3 separate regions of the Homo sapiens genome follow, and regions 1 and 2 are each linked to region 3. The links are contacts of gene promoters, found by promoter capture Hi-C in human tissues and cell types (Jung and others, 2019). All regions are on one chromosome and are shown on one strand. Each heading gives the region's core, a stretch centred on a gene start or on the middle of the fragment in contact. The rest is flanking DNA. Distances are from core to core; before and after follow the strand shown. Region 1 overlaps GRIK2 (glutamate ionotropic receptor kainate type subunit 2). Region 2 overlaps GRIK2 (glutamate ionotropic receptor kainate type subunit 2). Region 3 holds the start of GRIK2 (glutamate ionotropic receptor kainate type subunit 2).

Region 1 (4,253 bases), core at 1,581-4,080, 610 kb before region 3:
ATGTATAACACAACATTTTGAAGTTTTTTCCTTGAGATTTATATTATAATAGCATGGTTCTGGTTATAAATGGCTGTATAGTAACTATTATTTTTCAAAGTCCTGAAGCACTCACTTTCAGTGAGAGTCACTATGATTCACTAGGAGTTTGCTATGGATTCATTAGGAATCATAAAATTATTTCGATCAGATAAATACTGTTAGAAAATATTTTACAGTTGGAAAAGACAAAAGTGAAGCCTTAAATTGTTCACTTAGTGTTAGCATCTCATGTTTTAGAGGCAAAATTCCTTCTAGAATTCAATTCTTTAAATTCCCAGAGTTTATTATTAATGATGGGTCACACGAGTCTTCTTTGTTAATTGTAATTTGTGCTTACCTCTTGGTGTGTCCATATAAAATATTTTTTACTTTTCTTTATCATTGAAATACTTTGTTACTAGTTCTCTGTCATCAGGCGACATTGCTTTCAACTTTGCTGAAGCCATTAAAATTGGTTCCATCAAACAGCTTATGCCTATCTTGTAAATTCTCAAAACTACTCCATTCTGTTTTTACCCTCTCTGTTCTGTTGCCTGGTCATGTGCTGTTTTGTGTCTTCCAAGTCCTCTTTCTAAAAAGCATGCTTTCTCTTTCTTGTCTTTTTCTATCTTGACCTTTCAAGTTGTTCCTTTCTATTTGTACACTGAAGCTTTAAAGTCACAGACCAATGGTTTCCTCACATTCTTTAGCTAGACTTCATGACATCTGCCCATCTCCTTGGCATAAAACACTTTACTTTTCTGGTTCCACCTTTCTAATCTACTTTAAAATTTTGTTGTTGTTGTTGTTGTTTTTCCTTTTCCCTGCCTTCTAACTTTTGATTTTCTTAATATTCTACCATTGCCTTTTCTTATCAACTTCACCTTGGTAAGACCATCAGTTTAAAAACTAGAATAATAATGTGTTAATGGAACCCCTTTCCCTTACTTATACTTCAAATGTAGGGAGATTTTTTCCTACATTTAGGAAGGATAGAGGTATTCCCCTAAGGGACAATAAAATGTCCAATAATTTATTTAACATTGCCATCTACTTAATCCCAGCCTCTTAAACTAGACCCAGCCCAGAGTGAATTAAACCTCTTTCCTAAGAAAACTTTCTTTTTTGCAATTTGTATTTATATAAATGGCATTACCCTTTTTTACTTTCCTCCACCACTATCATCTAATATGAAAATTTTTGATTCCATCTGTTTCAACAATTGCATTGTTTCAATGCAATTCAATTCTTCAAGCTTAATACAAATGGTTTATGTAATTGTTCTCATGCTATTTGGTGGGAGGAAAACAAAATGTAGTATTGCCACCTCCATAAATACAGGATCAAAAGAAGAATACAACTATTATTGCTGATGATGCAAGGTAGAATGAGTACTGTCACAAAGTGAAGGTGGCAGGAAAAGAATATTCTAACAGCTTGCAAACCCTGCATTTAAATATTTATGTCATTTATCTTTCCTTTATCCAGTTTTCAAATTTTACTTTATTTCAGGACCTAATTACTTCTCACTCAAACTCACACTATGAATTTTCTTACATAGGTCTCATTTCCTCCCATTTCTCTCCTTTTCAATTACCTTCTCAAAATGTATTTTCTTATCTTCTCACTCTGCACAAAACAGTTACAATCATGACTTTCTACAAACTCTCATGGGCTACAACCACACTTCATGTAGAGTTATCTTTAAGGAACCATCCATATTCAATTTGGTATATTACTGTTACTGGAAACAATTGTCTTAAAAACTGGAATACGTTTTGTTTACAATTGTATCATGCACAACACCCAATCTAGCTTTTTATACATAATAGGTTCTTAAAAATATACATTAATTTTCACAGAATTAGGAGTATTTCTAAATTACTGAAAAGGGTCTCATAAAGTTCTTCAACAAAATTAATATTAATTATTTCCATTTAAAATTACCCAGAAAATATGCATTTATTTTTTGTCAAATGTATGTTACACGAACATGATGATAATTATGATAGTAATATCAAACAATAAGATATGATTATTTGCGATTTTATTATATTAGAACTTGCAAATATATAATTCATTTGATCTCCCAAAACATTATTCCATAAACATGCCATGAAAAAAAATGACAGGGCTTGTAGGGGTCAAGGGGCTTAATAAGGATCATTATCTCAGTATGACAGTATGCTGGACCAGGCGCAATGACTCACACCTATAATCTCAGCACTTTGGGAGGCCAAGGCAGGAGAATCACTTGAGCCCAGTTGTTTGGAACCAGCTTGGGCAACATGGCGAAACCCTGTCTCTATAAAAAATACAAAAATTAGCCAGGAGTGGAGGTGTATGCCTGTAGTCCAGCTACTCAAGAGGTTGAGATGACAGAATTGCTTATGCCTGGGAGATCCAGGCTGCAATGAGCTATCATCACACCACTGTACTCCACTGTATGTCTCAAAAAAAAAAAAAATATATATATATATATATATATAAAAGGTTTATCATCTTTTCTCAAATCAAATACCCTTTCTACTAACATTTCCTAACTATTGTACCAAGAAATAAAAGATAGCCTCCTTCATTTTCATTGAATTGCTCTGGGATTCTATTCTACAGAATTAAATAATTTTTGAAAGTATTTATTTTTTATTACACAATGTTATATTTTTTTCTGCACTAATGTTATGAAAAATATTTACTGAGCAGAATTCTTGGTGCTATGGGCTAAATTGTATCCCCCTCAAATTCATTTGTTGACGTCCTAACCCTCAATACCTGAGAATGTGCTTGTATTTGGAGATAGATGCCTTTAAACAGGTAATTAAGTTAAAATAAGGCCATCGCAGTGCACCTTAATCTAACTAAGCTTGAATCTTTATAAGAGGAAATCAGGACACACATGAGACACTAGGGACACGTGTGCATGCAGAAGAGAGACCACATGCATCCACAGAGAAGGTGGCCAAAGAGAGAGGCTTTAGAAGAATCCAACCCTGTCAGCACCTTGATCTTGAACTTCCAGCCTCCAAAACTGACAGAAACTTAATATCTATTGTTTCAGTTACCCAATCTATAATATTCTGTTATAGTAGCCATACCAAAGTAATATAATACACTTGGATAAGAAATAAAATATATTTTCACTGATTACGTTTGAGGTTTGGCGTAAAAGCAAATTTACTGGACTAAATGTTATGCTTTAAGCATTCCAAACAATGATTCAATGAAAAAATTAATGAACAAGATAAGTGTTTAATATACCAAAGATAAAGCTTATTTTTATGGAAAGGTTATATAAATGGAAAGATTTATATAGGAAGGCCAATAAAGAGATTTATTCCCTCAGGGTTATGCATAAGACTGAGTCAACCATCAATTGTTCTTCTTGGCCAAGAATCACACTTAGGCATAGATCCCGAGCTCAATGATTGGACTCTGGCATTTACTCACTTAAATTGTATAATATCAATAAAATTATGCTAATTTATAAATAAGAAGTCCCAAATATATAGCCAAAATAAAGATCACAACTTATAGATTATATATTAATCTTTTATTTGAAGATCAGCATTTTAAAGAACTTCTTTCACAGAGTCTCATATTGTGAATATTTATAAGATTATATGATTGTATGTGTGTATTATGTCTATACACATATATATGTACATATCTTAGAGGGAATTGTGTATATATACTTATATAAATATACATAATATATATACTGCACATATGAAATATTATCCTTCTATTCTAGTCAGTACAAACATAAACCAAAAGATTAAAAATTCAGGAGTAACAAAATATGTAAAAAGAAGTACATGAGAAGCTGCTATTTCTTGACAAGAGTATTAATAAATATAGGCTACTGTTCTCCTGCCACCTACACAAATTAAAAAATATTTTTATGCCAGAAATTAATATTAAAATCTTAATAATTTCCTGGAAATGCAAAAGGAATAGATCCTGCTGTGGACAAAAGAAAGAAAGAAAGAAAAAAAAAATGCACTGGAGAAAGGTGGTGGGGGGGCAGTTTAACTATAACAATATAATGTGAAAAGCTATTCTATATAAATACATTTCTCTCCTTCATAGTAGGCACATTATACTCTGATTCTAAGGAGCTGAAATAACATTAGCTGATCTTTGTATCGAGAAGTGAGAACAAAAACAATGTTGCACTAGAGGGCAGACGGAATGAAGGATGAGCAACAGGTATATATGATGCTTTCACTCCC
Region 2 (4,286 bases), core at 677-3,176, 630 kb before region 3:
AAAAAGAAAGAACAATCAATAATGCAAAGTTCCTTTGGCTAACATCTCCCCATTTCATCCCCTCAAACCCCTGGTAACTACTATTCTACTCCCTGCTTCTATGAGTTCAACTTGTTTTACATTCCATGTGTAAGTGAGATCATGCAGCATTTGTTTTTCTGTGCCTAGCTTATGTCATTTAACATAGTGACTACACATAATTATACTGCAAATTTATACTTGAAAGTTGCTAAGAGAATAGATCTTAAATATTCTCACCACATACACAAAAATACAGGATAATGGATATGTTAATTAAACTGATTATGATAACTTTATATATATGTATGTAGATACAGATAAGATACCAGGAAAGACGCAGGAATTGAGACTCAGCCTGGCTCTGTGCATAGCTGCTGTCAAATTTATTAGGAAAGACTCTCCAACACTGTAAATATATACAGTTTTTATTATTTTATTGAGGTCAACTGTACCTCAGTGAAGCTGAAAAAAAATAAGGCAATGTTCCTAATAAGGTGGGTCCTGAGTAGAATAAACGAGGATTTAGAACACTGCCATTGGCTTGACCTCTGGTTTGAAAATATTTATATTAAACACCCATGGGGTCATACTTCCACTGTAAAATATATTGTGTAAGGGGAAAATAAGAAGACTTAGCTAGATTTATTTTTAATAAAGCAAAAAGTTGTTGAACATTCTCAAAGTTAAATAGATTATAGGAACTTGAAACGTAAAAATCAATAAATGGGAGCTGTACAAGTTAAAGAAAAGGAATAAAAATGCACTTAGGATCAGTGATGAGGTAAAAATGAAATTAATCAAATATTTCTATGTTGAATATGAAAGTTGTATGCAAATTGACATAGAAGAAAGGAAATATAAAGTTGCAGTATAAACTAAAGATTATACGTGGAAAACAACCGGCATGTTGAAGGAGCCACCTGTAAATACATTTTGCTCCATCACCTGTAACAATGGCTAGTGTCTTTCAGTGAAGTAGATACTGATCATTGCCAAGGGACCTGATTAAAATCAAACATAAGGACTAAGCTGATCAGCCAAAATGTCCACAGTCTTTGAAGGTCCTCTGGCCACTGTGATGAGAGAAAGTGAAGACTGAGACAGAACACCAGGAAAGACTCAGGAATTGAGACACATCCTTGCCCTGTCCATAGCTGCTGCCAAATTTATTAGGAAATACTCTCCAAAAGAATGTAGTACCTAAGAGAAATATATAAAATAAAAGACAGGTAGTAAGCTAAGCACATCATAAAATAATTTTCTATTAGCAAATAATTGAGGTAACAACAAATTAGAGGATCATAAAGAGCTCACCTTGAGGGTAGCCAAGTAAAAGATAAGAAATAGTTAAAATATTTTTCTTTCCTACACAGTTGAGAGAACCAAAGCTCCTTGCCTTAAAAAAAAGTGAAAATAGATAAAATTCATGGCATCATGATTTTGCAAAAGAATTTTAATTACATAAAACATAAAAAGATTATAACTTACCTGACAAAAATAAAAAAAACGATTTCTTAATTATTATCCTTATAGTTATATTATACAGAGTAATTAGCCAGATAAAGCCAAGAGAATCAATTAAATAATGTCTCAGAGATATTGCATGAAATGCATATCTTAAAAAAAGCACTGTAAGAAAAATGCATTTTTAAGTTTTCGTAAATCATCTTATTTTCCCACTAAACTTATCCTATCTGCCACTAAAAATACTAGAATGTATTTCTATTTTATTCCTCCTTTCCTTAAAGAAACTTATTTTTCTATGTTATATTAGATGGATTTGGGATGTCAATGTTTAGCAATGTTTATTTTATAAAAATGCCGAGGCTTGTAAGCCGATTTGTTTTTTTCTACATCAGCACAAACCAATAAAATCAGTTCAGAAGACACTATCTGCTTATAATAGCAGTTTTCATGGATTGTGAAACATCAACAAAATAATGTATTTTTGTCAAAAATAAACTTTAAAGGAATAAGAAATACACCCCCTTTTAAAATTCACAATTGCCAAATGATTTTGTGTATTAAAAAGAGCATACAATGTAAATATTTAAAATATTTTAAACACACATCTAACAATTTAAAACTTATAGACATTTTAGTTTAGTTTCTGCTAGAACACTAAATAAAGTTTGCAACCTGGAAATTATTTGGCTCTTTGCAAGTCTCAAATGACTAACAAATTTTAGGGTAAATTTCTTTTCTGAATGTTTTAGTGAACTGGTAAAATATCAGTGTAAGAATAGTGCTTTGCAATTTTGTTTTAAATTTCTTCGAAAATATTATGAAAAGCTAATAAGGTAAGGTTTACTCTTGAACCACTTGCATAGATCTTCTTTTCTTTTACTGGGAGCAACATATTTGACAAATATAAAGGTATCTTCTTTTTAAAGATATCTTAGGTACACAAATGGATTCCTCACCTTTGTTCATTTTGTTTGCTGTCAAAAATAAATTAAAATTTAGAAACCATCTTATGCTCATTGAACTTGCTTTTATGAACCTGACTGTCTAAAAGTGATAAGAAAATAACATTATCAATATTTGTGTAACCTCCTAAAGCAAGGATTTAGAATTAACTTTTTAAGTATGTTCTACAGGAAAGGTTTCTCCATGAATGAAATTTAAAACCTTTAACATTAATTTTGTTTTAAATGTCATAACAACAACACATCCACCATGCAAAGAAAATTGAATACTATATTGTAATATGTTTTGTTATACATAATATTAGAAATGTTGACTTCAGCTCAGACACCTTAAAAAGTTAATCAGGTGGTACAACACCCAAAATATCTTGAAGTAATCTGAAAAAGACTTTATTGTTAACAAATTCTATTTCTCTTGAATTAATAAACAGACATTTATAAATAAAAGTTTTACCTCCTAAATAATCTGGCAGAATTAGTTTAACATTGGTGTATAGATTAATACAGTAAAATTGCTAAAAGCAAACTAATTTCTGACTTTTTAAAATTAACAATGTAAATTTTGTGGTATTTGGTACTAACTCAAATTATTCTTTTTCAATAAATTTTACATGACCAATTTTGTTTATAATGCTAACTTAAATATTTGGCTATAGTGCTATAATAATAATTCTTATTTTGTTATGAAAAAGTTACATGTAATAAGCCCTAATGCTCATAGCAAGGTCTCCCTTGGTAAAAGAGATTCTGGCTGAGATTTCCATTTTAATTTTTTATTACAGAAATAAATTACCAACAATACTGGAACATATGTGCTAGGTAAGAACAGCTGAGCCCTATCTGGACTCATCTGACCTTGGTCACTAGGAAATTAGAGTTAATTCAGGGAAACAAGACTGAAGCCATATGTGGTTCATATCAAAGGTGGATCTGAGTCCAGTGCAGTGATCTGAAAAGCATTCAGTTGTTAGTAAACCTGTCAGCCTTGGGATAATTCTGGCAGTGTTATCTCAAGGCATCTGTAATCTCTTAAAACAGGATATTTGAAGGGAAGGACAATGAAACAGAGAGAATTGCTCTTCTCAGTGTTAGTGTGAGTTAATAGAGGAATAAAAGAAATCAGAGTGACTAAGCATAATAGGATAGGCAGCAAGTTTAGTATCATTTGGTGCAGTTAAAGACAGTTATCCTTTTTAGGTAGTTGAAACAGCATTTGATAGTTCATTGTGTACCATTCCAAGTATCTCATAATGAAGGTTCATTGCATATTATCTTTTAAATGAGATGTCTTCAACTTTCCTGATCAAATATTTTCTTTTCTTATAAATAATAGCCATCAAGAATATATTTTACTGTCATGTGGACAAACTGAAATACAATTAAGAAACTTTACCACACTGGGTCAATGAAGGACCTTGGATAAGCCATAATTTCTTTTCCCTACCTAATGTAATAAAAAGCTTCTTTAACAATATCGTGGAAGTATTGTGATAAATAAATGAGAAAACTCATCTAAAGCCATTTTGACAGTCCATAAAGCTCTGTAAAGATAATCAGAATTTATTCTCGTTGCTTGTTTTACATAATCAATCAAAAGAGAAACACAGTACTTGTACATGAGATGACTGTAGCATATACCTACTGTCTTCATATATATATATATATATATATATATATATATATATATATATATGTAAGTGTATATGTATATGCCTTTACCATTAAAATAATTCTTAATTTTTTAAGGATAAGGAAACTTGTTTTCCCCTCTATTGTTATTTAATCACCCTAGTAAGCAAGAATAGAAAAAGCACCCTGAGCTTTTGCTGAGGTAGG
Region 3 (4,406 bases), core at 1,606-4,105:
AATTGCTTGATAAGCCCAAGATGTAGTTATCTTTTTTTGTAATAGGGCATACTGTTAAAAAAACTACTTATATTAATTGTGAGATTCCTCATGAACACTAAACTACTTGATTGTCAGTACAAAAAAAAATTGCTAGAAAGACCACAATTCAGAATGCCAAATAACATGCTGTCAATATTCAGTGGCTAAAGACATTTTTTAAATGTACAATTAGTTATCACTTTCAATTCTCCACCTCCAGATTTCCATCTGTTACTAGGGTAATGAGATTAATTCTTGTTCTTTCACATTAAACTCACTCACTTCCTGGGGGGGGGGGGAATGCTAAATTTACATCCCTATACTACAATAAAATGATTTGGTGGCATAGTTGATGCCTTAACATGTGGCAATTTTGAAGTTATTACAAGTTTCTCCCCAATACTGATACCACACATCATAGTTCTGAGGTTATATGAAGGATTAATAAATTCCTTACACAGTATTTCACTGACTAGATTTAACCCTTTTAAAAATTGTGTCAGTTCTGTAATTTGCTTCTTCCTTAAAGGAAAGAGAAAACTACTGCTATTGGATATCAGGCAATTATATATACTTAGTAAGATTTATATATTTTATTCTATGGTCTCATTTTTTTCCTCATTTTAACCATATGGCACTCTTTATTTCTATGAGCCAAAGCTCTGTAGATTCCAAGGTCAAAGCAGAGATAACAAACTGCAAAAACACACATACACGCACACCCAGAGAGAAGCTGTATTTAGAAGTATACCTCAAAAAAATCATAGAAGGCTGACACAAATATCAAACCTATGATAAATTGACAAAGAAGAAAATGCATATCATGTTAATGCAAAGCTTCTTCCAACAATAACAAAAAAACCCACTAGCTTCATCTTTCACTATATTTTTATATTTGCAGATACTAATGACCTCTTATTCTTGGGCACTATTACTTGAGAAACAATTTTAGTTTCCTATTCTGCCAGTGAAAATGAATCTTATTCTAGTTAGCTGCCACCTGCTGGGGTATGAGAAAATGTGTAATAATCTTTATAGCACAACATTTAAAAAGACAATGCCTATACCTTTTGCTGGAAACAGCAAATACATACCCCAGAACAACCTGAATTTCAAAGATGTTTCAAAGGTTCTTACATGCCATAGCTATATTTAAATTTTTCACATGGAATTCTTACTAAGGATTCCACTTGACTTGTCACGGAAGTCCTGCTGTTATGTGACATTTGAAAAACCTCATCTTATAGTAACACCTAACCTATTATTCCATGCAAGTGGCCTGTTGCATAGCAATTTAGCTAAAACAAACAGCCTGTTTATACATGGCATTAAAGATCTCAGAGAATAAAGTCAGGACTGAGTCAGGTTTCAGTTGAAATCACACTGTTGCATACTTGCAACTCACTCTTCTTAACTATGCATGCTGTGGTATCCCTTATGATTCTGAACACATTATCAGCTGTTCCAGCAACATTCTGCTGCATTGATGATTAATGACATTTAGAGTTTTGATTAATTTTTAGACACTAAAATAAGTGTATCTTAATTAACAAATTGAAGTGGAATAAATTTACATATCCCAGAACTTTTTTTTTTAAATTTCAGCCTGTGTGATTTTCAATGGGTTTAAATAGGAGAAAACAAACAGATAAGACTTCCAAACATTGCTCAATTCTCTATCACCTTGCTCTTGTGCATTTCAATTTTTTGTTGTTTGTTTGACTCAAAAGTTTTTAAGGCCACTGGAAGTTGATAGGCTGCCTTGGTGGTTACAGGAATAGACTCTATAAAGTTAGAAAGTAATGAACTAAGACAAATCAAGATTGAAATACAATTGCATTTATTTCAGTAACTAAACTGACTAATTAAGACTCAAATGAACCAATCATCTCTCGTGAAATGAAAATAATCATCAATCCATAAGATAATTTCTGATGACAGAATACTTACAGTATGGAGATGAATAAACGATAGAAGATAATCTGTGCATTACCAAAAGGCTACTAATAGTAAGTTTTCTAATATTCCCCATTGCCTAAATTGGAAATTATTCTCTAAGGAGCCTCAGCTCGGTCGTGTTGTTTGGTAAAGAAACTCTATCTCCTTAAAGGTAAAAATATCAGAGGATGTGGTTCGTTAAAAGTTCTTGAGGTTTATGATCCACCCTGGTAACACTGCCCACTCCTTACCCTAATGGGACGCCCTCCAAGTTTTTTCAGAAGCTCTTAATACGGGTGCCGGTTAAAATAAATATACTTCCTCAGCGCAGAACTAAGGAGTAGGGTTAATGGAAGGATGGGTGGGCAGAAGGAGGGATGGGGAGTTCGTCAGACCCGCCGGCAGCCACACAGCTTCTTGCCATCTGTCTCATTCTCTTCGCCTCGCGTGAGTCCCCGTAGCTGAGGCCACTTCCTGACACGTCCACTTCTTAAATCATTTTATGTGGAGAACATAGGCGACTGCAGCCAACAGAGCCACTTGCATGCTTGACGGGAATTGGCTGAGATAAGCCCGACAAAGACTCGCAGTGAATCCGTCCAGCGGGCGCCCCGAGCGCACGGACGTCCGCAGCGCTACTGTTCGCCTTCTTCCTTCTCTCCAGGTGGAAAATGCCCCTCGCCCACCCGCAGTCCCTCCCGTCCTCTTGAAAACAAACACCTCGTGAAGGAGCCCGGAGTGCAGCCCACAGCCGGGGAGTCCTTACCTGGAGCTAGGGGTGAGGTGGGCGGGGAGGGGGTGGGGTGGTCCTCGGGGAGGAGCAGCCGGAGGAGGTCGGGCGGAAAAGTCCCCAGCTACCAGACCGACCAGCGCAGCCGCCGGCGCCGAGCGCGAGTGACGGCAGCGGCGAAGACGGTGACCGAGGAGCAGCAGCGGCGGCGGCGGCGGCAGAGACAGACACGCCTCCTGGCGGGGGTTCCTCGCCTCTTGCTTTAAAGGCGCCGCGCTCCTTTCCCCGTGGCCCCTGCACGCTCCTGGCCGCCGCGGCCACTCGGGGGCATCTCCCACCCCTGGACCACAGGAGCTAGAGCGAGAGAATTCCTGGTGTCCCTAGACTTGGATGTTACGAAGCCTCCGGCTGGACTTCGCTCCCTTAGCGCACACCCGCCTCCTGGGATGGGGAGACTAAGGCCAAGATGCTCTGTCAGGGAGTGAGTGATGCATGCAAAGCGCCGAGGAATTTGCCTAGCCTTGGGTGGTGACAACACATATAAGGAGCCCAAACACATTTGCTTCTGGGTGATGGCTTTTATGCCTCTCCGAAACCATAGCAACGAAACTTCTCCACTGCCAGGGCTTGGAGGGCTGCTGGTAGTCTCCAAAGTGGACCTCTTAGTCCAACTACGGTCATTTCCCTGAGGTTCGCAAAAAAAGATCTTGATCTGCGCACCCTCCCACCCCGACCTCCAGCGCATAGAGCAAATGCGCTCTGGTAGCGCTGCTGCGGGTATTCCCTCAGATGCTGGGAGTCACAGTGCCCTGCTCCCTGCCACCATTATTGAGAACAGATGCTTGGAAATTGACTTTTCCTGAGTGTTAGGAGGTCGGGCGGGCTGTCTCTGTGTATGTATGGCGCCTTAAATAGCAGACTCCCCTCTCCCCACCAAACTCCCGCCCAGGCCCCGGAACTCTCAACCTAAACACATTTCAGAAAGAAGTTGGATTCGAGATCTAGTGGGCGCCGAACCTGAGGTCGCAGACTCCAAGATTGGAGACAGGAGTCTGGGAAGCAGCCCTGGTTTGGCGGCCACTGGTCCAAGTTCTCGGGAGGACTCTTTTAAAGGCCAGAGATGGGGAGGGGCAACTGAGTCCCAGAGTCTTCCCGCAGCTTGGCTTCCAGGGAGGGGCTGGCGGCGGTGAGCGCACCAGGCTCTCCCTGCTTCACTGTGGAAACGATTAGCTTTTGCAAACAATCCCTGAGTTCCGCTCCTCTGGGTCGGAAAAGTCAACATCTATTCAAAACCGTTGCTATTTTATCCTCAGCCCTACAATATTAACTGGAGCTGAGTTTAGCAGTTTCCCCCAGAGGAAGTTGGCCAGCTCAGATTCGCGAGGAGATTTAAGTGAGGCTAAGCGGGAACAGGCCAGGCGCACTGGGCTCAAGAGACCATTTCAAACGGGCTGCATAAAGAAGGGGCCAGGGGGGATTCCACGGCTCTGCAGTCCCCTAGCAGTTCCAGTCCCTGGTGGTTCTCCACTATCTATCTAATTCCGAGGTCCGGGAATTAGAGAGGCTCTGAGTCCCCAGGGACCCGTTGTCTGAGCTGGAGACCAGAACTTGCCCTTTTGCTTCCTCCTTCACTGCAGCCCTAGTAAAGTTAAGCCCTCGCCGGACCCTGGCGCAGCAGGGCCATGTTCCACACCCTGAGGCTAGCGCCTGGCTCAGA

What was found. The method cuts DNA at HindIII sites, captures the fragments that hold promoters and counts their contacts. A contact is called where the count stands out against the background at its distance.
Region 1: a contact is called between a fragment that was not itself captured here and the fragment with the promoter of GRIK2 in region 3, in 1 of the 25 tissues and cell types used here (H1 embryonic stem cells).
Region 2: a contact is called between a fragment that was not itself captured here and the fragment with the promoter of GRIK2 in region 3, in 1 of the 25 tissues and cell types used here (dorsolateral prefrontal cortex).

What each region holds. Positions count from the first base shown.
Region 1 is chr6:102,004,626-102,008,878 of GRCh38, reverse strand. All of the region lies in intron 14 of GRIK2 (glutamate ionotropic receptor kainate type subunit 2), which reads right to left. Among named protein-coding and RNA genes, the nearest start is that of GRIK2, 610 kb to the right of the region's middle. The HindIII fragment of the contact is 3,691 bases long and covers 985-4,253 here.
Region 2 is chr6:102,025,969-102,030,254 of GRCh38, reverse strand. All of the region lies in intron 14 of GRIK2 (glutamate ionotropic receptor kainate type subunit 2), which reads right to left. Among named protein-coding and RNA genes, the nearest start is that of GRIK2, 630 kb to the right of the region's middle. The HindIII fragment of the contact is 7,258 bases long and covers 1-4,286 here.
Region 3 is chr6:101,392,157-101,396,562 of GRCh38, reverse strand. GRIK2 (glutamate ionotropic receptor kainate type subunit 2) reads right to left here and starts at 2,855. Exons shown (of 17, transcript NM_021956.5): 1 at 2,726-2,855. The HindIII fragment of the contact is 9,322 bases long and covers 1-3,199 here.